Regions from separate parts of the Homo sapiens genome. Here region 2 is linked to region 1. The links are contacts of gene promoters, found by promoter capture Hi-C in human tissues and cell types (Jung and others, 2019). All regions are on one chromosome and are shown on one strand. Each heading gives the region's core, a stretch centred on a gene start or on the middle of the fragment in contact. The rest is flanking DNA. Distances are from core to core; before and after follow the strand shown.

What was found. The method cuts DNA at HindIII sites, captures the fragments that hold promoters and counts their contacts. A contact is called where the count stands out against the background at its distance.
Region 2: a fragment that was not itself captured here is called in contact with the fragment with the promoter of GLB1L2 in region 1 in 3 of the 25 tissues and cell types used here (H1 embryonic stem cells, IMR-90 fibroblasts and lymphoblastoid cells).

The regions. Positions count from the first base shown.
Region 1 is chr11:134,329,527-134,333,237 of GRCh38, reverse strand. It overlaps GLB1L2 (galactosidase beta 1 like 2), which reads right to left and starts at 1,250. Exons shown (of 19, transcript NM_001370461.1): 1 at 1,091-1,250. The coding sequence starts at 1,176. RefSeq lists a silencer at 1,101-1,400. The HindIII fragment of the contact is 11,293 bases long and covers 1-3,711 here.
Region 2 is chr11:134,804,647-134,808,357 of GRCh38, reverse strand. No RefSeq gene overlaps it. Among named protein-coding and RNA genes, the nearest start is that of LINC02714, 71 kb to the right of the region's middle. The HindIII fragment of the contact is 4,993 bases long and covers 1-3,711 here.

The sequences.
Region 1 (3,711 bases), core at 1-2,500:
AAATCCGTCCTTCTCCCAAACAATATCATGACGTCCCCACTATCTCAGAAACAAGAATCCAGTCTTGACAAGGTGTAAACATAGAGTTTGTCAGTGTGTTCTTCTGGCCACAAAGGACTTCCAGATATTTATCTCCATCAAAAACTTCCCTGTCTCCCAGGGGAAGTGCAGAGAAACTAAGAACTTAGTTTCTCTAAGTAAAAAAGAAGCAAATGACAAAGCCGAGCGGCGTAGGGCCTGCCACCACTTCCAACCGTTCAGTTCATTCGATACTGCCGGTCGGCTTCCCACTGGAGGTTTTGAATATGGAAAGTGCTGACCTGAAAGATAGGGTCAGGGCTGTAGAATCCTTAAAATAAGCACAGTTTAGAAAAATGCTGGGCTAGGGCACCCAGAAAACTTTTTCACAGGCTGTGGGTAAATCACAGTATCACTGAAGCCACTCCTTTGCCATAAACAACATTTGGAAAAGGGGGAGAGGAAAGGGTGAGCTGGTAACAGGTGAATGGTGGGAAAGTGGAGAGAGACGACCTATCAGTCCTACTGTGCAAATAAATCATGGCCCGGGATCTTGGAGGCCCACGGACACTGTTCTTACGACCCTGCCAGGCCAGCTGGCTAGACCATACCTGCCAGGCTGAAGCGCCGGCCTCTGCGGAATAAGGCGCCTCCCAGAGGCTTGGGAGGAAAAGGGGGGCCTGGGGGAAGGGCAGAGGGAGCTCTCCGCGGAGCAGTGGGGACGGGGCCGCGATGGGGTGCGTCTGAGAGGGCTCTGACGGCTGGAGGGCTGCGGGCGTCCACGGGGGGCAGAGCCCGGCGTCACAGGCGCGGCGGGGTGGGCGGCTCGGGGCACAGACGCCGGCTCCCGAGGGCACGCCGGGTGTCGCCCAGAGGCCTGGATCGCGCGGCAGGAGTAGAGTGCCTGCAGCCGCAGGGGAACTCGGGGGTATTGGGGAGCTCCCAGAAAGAAGCAGCTGGGGCTGCTCCCCCCGGGAACTCGGGATTCGCGGGTCGCGGGAGGAGAGAACCCGAGGTGCGGAGGGCTGGGGAATGTGGGGTCCGGCAGGTGCTGCGCGAAGCTCTCTCTCACCTGCGGAGCACCAGGAAGCCCAAGACGACCAGCAGCAGGAGTCCCAGCGTGCGGGCCGGCCTCCGCCGGAGGCTCCACGTGGTCATCGCGTGTTCTCTAAGCGCGGGGACCCGGGTTCCCACTCCAGTCCGCACTCAGCCGCGCGCGGGAGCCTCGCCGCGGGGGGCGGAGCCGCGCACTGGTCGCCTGGGCAACCGGCCCGCCGGCGCTCATTGGCTGGGGCTCGCGGCTCCGCGCCTGCAGCCCTAGGCCTCGCGCAAGCGGGGGCGGGGCTGGCCGGGGCCGGGGCGGGGCCTCTGTCGGGGGGGGGGCGGGGCGGGGCTGGTGGGCGGGGACGAGGTCTCGGTAGGAGAGGGGGCTGGCGGGGGCGGGGCTGGCGGGGCGGGGCCCCGGCCGGGGGCGGGGCGGGGACAAGGTCTCGGTAGGGGACGGGTCTGGCCGGGGCGGGTCCCCAGTGTCGTGGAGCGGTGCAGAGTCCGCCGTCTTTCTGCTCGCGAGGCGCAGGCGGGTGCGGGAATGCTGCGTACCTGTCAAACGCCGAGGTAAAGTCGCCCCTCGCAGCGCTACATCAGGAAGAACGTACAAAAGGCGTCCGCAAAGCAGGGGCAACCAACAGAATCTTTTAAAACAATTCAGATTCTGAAGCAAACAACTTTTTCAATAACAAATCATCCTGTGAAAAGCCAGGATTTTGAAGAATTGTATCTGGACACATTTCAGTGTGGTTCATGTCTGAGGAGGGGGGGTTCCAAATATTTTCTGTCTTTGGTTTCTGCGAGTCTTACTCTGGCCTTGACTCCAAGGGCTTCCAATTTTTTATTTTAAAAAGGTCCATATAAAACTCTCACATTTTAGGAAAGGAAGAATATCATTCTTATTCTGAAACAGAATGTATGTCCCAAAGAACATGATGTAGTATTTCGGTGCAACTTACACTGTAGCAATCACAAACCCAACTCCTCCCGGGAACAAAATTCAGATTTTACTGAAAGAAACTCGAGGAAGGGCAACGTTTTCCAGAGCATCCGGGTTTGTCGAATGTCTCCCTTGCCGCATGCTTTGAATTCATTTCCTAAACGGGGGCATAGTTTTGAACTTGTAAAGCCGACAGGAACCAAATGAAATTGCAGATCTTGGAACAAAGACACAGACTTGGGTATGAAGTGTCCTTTGTCTAGCGTTAAGCACATATTTAGTCAAGGAGCAAAAGTTAAATCAAAGAGAGGCAAAAACAAACGAACAAACAAGAGGAAAAAAACCCTGGCAGAACTGGGGAGGATAAGCTGGGCTTGGAGCAATCCGGGTCTGACTTAAGCACCGCAAACATTCCCAGAGGCGCGCAGAGGGAGGCCCACTCCCGTGGACGCGCTCCAAGCCCGCTCCTTTTCTCCATTGGGTAAGGCTATGATTGCTTGATGGCTATGAAGTCTGTGATGGAAACATGTTGGTTTAATTGGAATATACCAGCTAGCCCCGAAGCGTGTGGAGAAATTGTCAAAGGCTAGCCCCTTTGCCTGCAGGGGACCATCCGAAAGACATGCACCCCACATTCATCCTCTCACTTCTGGTCACGTTGAACAGTGGCAGAATCTATCAAATATAAGGGAATTCTCAAATGGTTTAAGCAATACAAGCATCTCCATTTTTCTTCAAACGTTAGCAAAAACTTAACATGGGTTGTGAAAACCGTGAACTCCTTGGCCCACCCTTGTATCCTTCGTTTTTATTTGTGCGAGAAAAATATACATAACTGAGTGTTTTCAAAAAAATTTCCCCTTAACCTTGTGGGATGTTCAGAACTAGGGACACACCCTGCTCACAGTCTAGGAACAATTTTACTTTATCTGGGCTTAATGATACCACAGAATGCTACAAAGTTAGCACTAACCCGAGATGCGTCTTGCTCATAGGCTGAGACTTTTTTTTTTTTTTTTGAGACAGAGTCTCACTCTGTTACCCAGGCTGGAGTGCAGTGGTGCAATCTCAGCTCACTGCAATGCCTCCCGGGATGCAAGCTATTCTCCTGCCTCAGTCTCCCGAATAGGTGGGACTGCAGGCACCCACCACCTTCCCCGGCTAATTTTTGTATTTTTAGTAGAGACGGGGTTTCACCATGTTGCCCAGGCAGATCTCAAACTCTTGACCTCAGGTGATCCACCTGCCTCGGCCTCCCAAAGGGCTGGGATTACAGGCGTGAGTCACCATTTCCAGCCTGAGACTTTTGTTTTTTAAAACATTAGGCCGGGTGCGGTGGCTCAAGCCTGAATCCCAGCACTTTGGGAGGCCGAGGGGGGCAGATCACGAGGTCAGGAGATCGAGACCATCCTGGCTAACACGGTGAAACCCCATCTCTACTAAAAATACAAAAATTAGCCGGGCGTAGTGGCGGGCGCCTGTAGTCCCAGCTACTCAAGAGGCTGAGGCAGGAGAATGGCGTGAACCCAGGAGGCAGAGCTTGCAGTGAGCCGAGATCGTGCCACTGCACTCCAGCTTGGGCGACAGAGCGAGACTCCGTCTCAAAAAAAAAAAAAAAAAAAAATTAGCAAGATACTCCTTCAGTGTCTCCTTTCCAAAATGTTTAGTGATCTTAACCCAAAGCAGACAGTGAAAATACTCAAATC
Region 2 (3,711 bases), core at 871-3,370, 470 kb before region 1:
TAATATACTTTGGGCTCCTTAAGTTCTTGATCTGATTCTGCTTGTGTAGGGTCTATTCTAACCAAGCTCTTTTTTATCTGTTGCTTGCTTAGTCGTGGATGAGGAGCGCAGGTGCTCCATGTGGAAATGCCCAGAGCTGCTCCCTCCACTTGGTTGTGAGCTCCCCACAGATGGCTATCCTTATGGAGCCCAGTCATCCTTGGTTCTAATTAGCAAATCTGGAGACCTAGTTGATGCTCAGTGACAGCAGTGACATGCTCATCAGTGGATGTGCTTAGTAACACTCACTCCTCGAGTTATCTCTGATTCTATTTATCAATCATATTATAATCAGTTATTATCTGCTTTGTTTTCATTTCTTTAAGATGCTGTTAAACATTTGGGTGTGTGGTACATACACATATTAAATATGCTAATTAAATATCATTAGTAATTTATGCAAAGCCCTAGGCTCAATTTCTCTAAATGTTGTGGCATCTGATGTAGGTGGATAGAAATACATAAGGTCATCCAATCTTCCTCTTATTGCTTTTCCCAGAACTCTTCTTAATGGCATCAGACAAGACACTGATTTGCAGAAATTGCCAAGGTTCTTTGTGAAGCAAGGATAATGCATTTTATAAACAGCCACAGTAATTTTAACTAGAATTGTGAAAACTATTTTACCTCAAGTTAAACAAACTTAGAGAAAGGATCCCAGAGTGAATGCAATCTGAAAAGTAAATTAGGGGCAAACTAGCTGCTGGCAGAGGTCACTGGAGAAAAGTGACAATCAGAATGTCCTTCCTGGGCCATTCCCTTTGCCTAAATGAGAGGCCATCTCCAGTTTGATGGGATTCTCTACCAGAAATCAGAGCTGTGACTACAGCTACATTTCAGAGCTGGAGGAAAATTAAGGACATGGAATTCATACAGAACACGATCAGATCACCTCCTCCTCTCTATCTCCAGTGCCTCCTGTCTTCCTCTTGAAAGGACTGTTGTGATTATCTGGGCACACTTGTATAATCTAGAATAATCTCTACATCTCAAAGTTCTTGAATTTATCACACCTGCAGTGTCCCTTTTGCCATATATTATAAAATAGCATTCACAGATTAATTCACAGGGATTAAGACATGAACATCTCTTTTTCAGCCTATTACAAAAGCTGTATTTATAATGACCTGAATGTCCATCAACAACGCATGGATAAACAAATGTATATTCAAACAATGGAATACCATTCAGCCATAAAAGGAATTACTATCTGACATTTTGAGAACAATGACTTGACCTGGTAATAGAATAGCACTCCAGTTACAGCCAAGAAGTTTTTGAAGTCCACACTCTGTCTTCCTAATTTTGGCCCTCACAGCTACTCCAGTCCCCTAATCATAAACATTGCACCTGAGGATTCTCAGAACCACCTTCCCAGAGAGCAGCTGGGTTGTCCTCCTCAATCCAAGAAAATATTCATTATCCTGAGCAGCCACTGAGAGGAGGCCTCTATCCTGAAGGTTCCAGATTCTCAAGAAAGAAGAAAAAGTTGACATTTCTGGAGATGAGGAGGCTATTAATGAAAATTCAGTAAGAAAAACTGTAAGAGGATTCAAAAGCTATCCATCCACTCGGAGATGCTCTTTACAGGTAGCAAGTTGAGAAGGGAGGAGTGGAACAGCTGTGCCTCCATCAACAGCATCTCCTCGCTGCTCACACCCACCGTTCCCCAGGGCACGTCCGTGTGGCAGGATGGGAGGAAGGATCTCAGTCGCTGATCATGCCATGGCATCCAACATCCCTGTAGGTCAGCCTCCAAGGCCTTCACCCCCCTCCTTTCCTTCTCTCTACCATTTCCATTGCTTGGTCCTTTGCTTCTTCTCCTTAAGCTCCTTGAGCGCTTGCTGCTACAGCTGCTTTGATACATGTAGGGATATGTAGGGCTATGTAGGGCTGAAGTTCATTCAGCCAGGACCAAGTTTCTCTGACTTTACAAGAGGAGGCACTTTCTGGGGTGGGAGCCTGGAAGCTCAACTGAGTCCTGACAGGGAGATCCAGCTCTGTGTGTTGGCCATCACCCCTGTATCCTTTCCCAGTCACTGGGAGCGTGGGAAGAGGGCAGCACCAGGGAGGGCTCCTGACACCTGTGACTCTCACACAGGTCACTCAGCGGTTCCCATTATTTACTTCTGGTCAGGAGCCTGGGTCAGCATGGAGAGAAGGGAAAGACGTGACAAATGCTTTTGTGTTATTATGATTTGGGGCAGTTCGGTAATGTATTAAAATAATTACCTGTGAGAATATCACTGTAGATCATGCGAGCATTAGGAGAATAAGGAAATACCATGAACAGCTCTAGACACAGAAATTGAAAAATTAGATCAAATGAATCAATCCTCATAAAGCGCAAGCTTCCCTAACATGAAATAGATATTTGAAAGTGCGTAAATTACTTAGGAAACTGGGTTCATAATTTAAAACTCAAAATCTCCAGACCCAAATGGCTTCACTTAAGAATTTCACCAAACATTTAAAGAAGAATTAATACCACTTACATGTAGTCTTCTCCAGAAAGTAGAAGTGAAGGAACACTTCTTCCTAATTCCTAATTTCCTTTTCTGAAGCCTCAGATCTCCAAATCAAATAAAACAATACAAAATAGCTCATAAATAAAGATGTAAAAATCCTTAACAAAACAATAGAAAATAGAATCCATTTATTTGTTTGCTTATTCATTTATACACAATAACCATGGGATGCAAGACTAAAGAGCAATTACATGACTATGTCAAACACTGGACAAAAATCAGTACCAATTAAATTCGTAAAAAAAAAAAACTCACAATTACATGACTATGTCAAACACTGGACAAAAATCAGTACCAATTAAATTCGTAAAAAAAAAAAAAACTCAGAAAGCTGGAACTAGAAGGCAACTCCTATCACTTGATAAAGATCATCTCCAAAATTCCACAGCTGACAGGACACTGAATAGTGAATGCTGAATGCATCCCACTCCCATCAAGAGCGAGGTTAGGGTGTTTGCTCTCACCATTCTCATTCCACTTGCTACTGGAACTTCTAGCCATAAGTGGCATACAGATCAGAAAGGAGGAAATAAAACTCTCTCTACTTGCAAATCACATGATCACCTCAATAGAAAATCCCAAGGAATTTAAAACCCCGAAACAAAACAAACCCCCAAGAACGAGTAAGTAATTTCAGCATGGTTACAAGGTTAGCCATACAAAAATCAATTGCATTTCTATATACTAGCAATGCACACATGGAAAGAAAAATTTAAAATACAAAACCACTTATAATCACCAAAGACATGAAACACCTAGATGTAAATCTAATAAATCATACATGCAAATCATATGACGATAACTACAGCATACTGATGAAAAATTTAAAACACGTTTAAACACATGGAGACATGCTGTGTTCCTGGATTGGAATACTCAGCATAATAAAGATGTCAATTCTCCTCAAATTGGTATACAAGTTTAATGTCATTGCCAACAAATTCTAATTCTCAGCAAGCTATTTTGTGGATATAGAAAAGATTGTTATAAAATGTATATGAAAATGAAAAAATACTAGAATAGCTAAAACACTTTTGAAAAACAGTGGGAGGAGTCATTCTATCTGAAGTTAACACCTACAATATACAGATGATCCCCGACTTATGATGGCTTGACCTAGGATGTTTCAGCTTTACAATGGTGC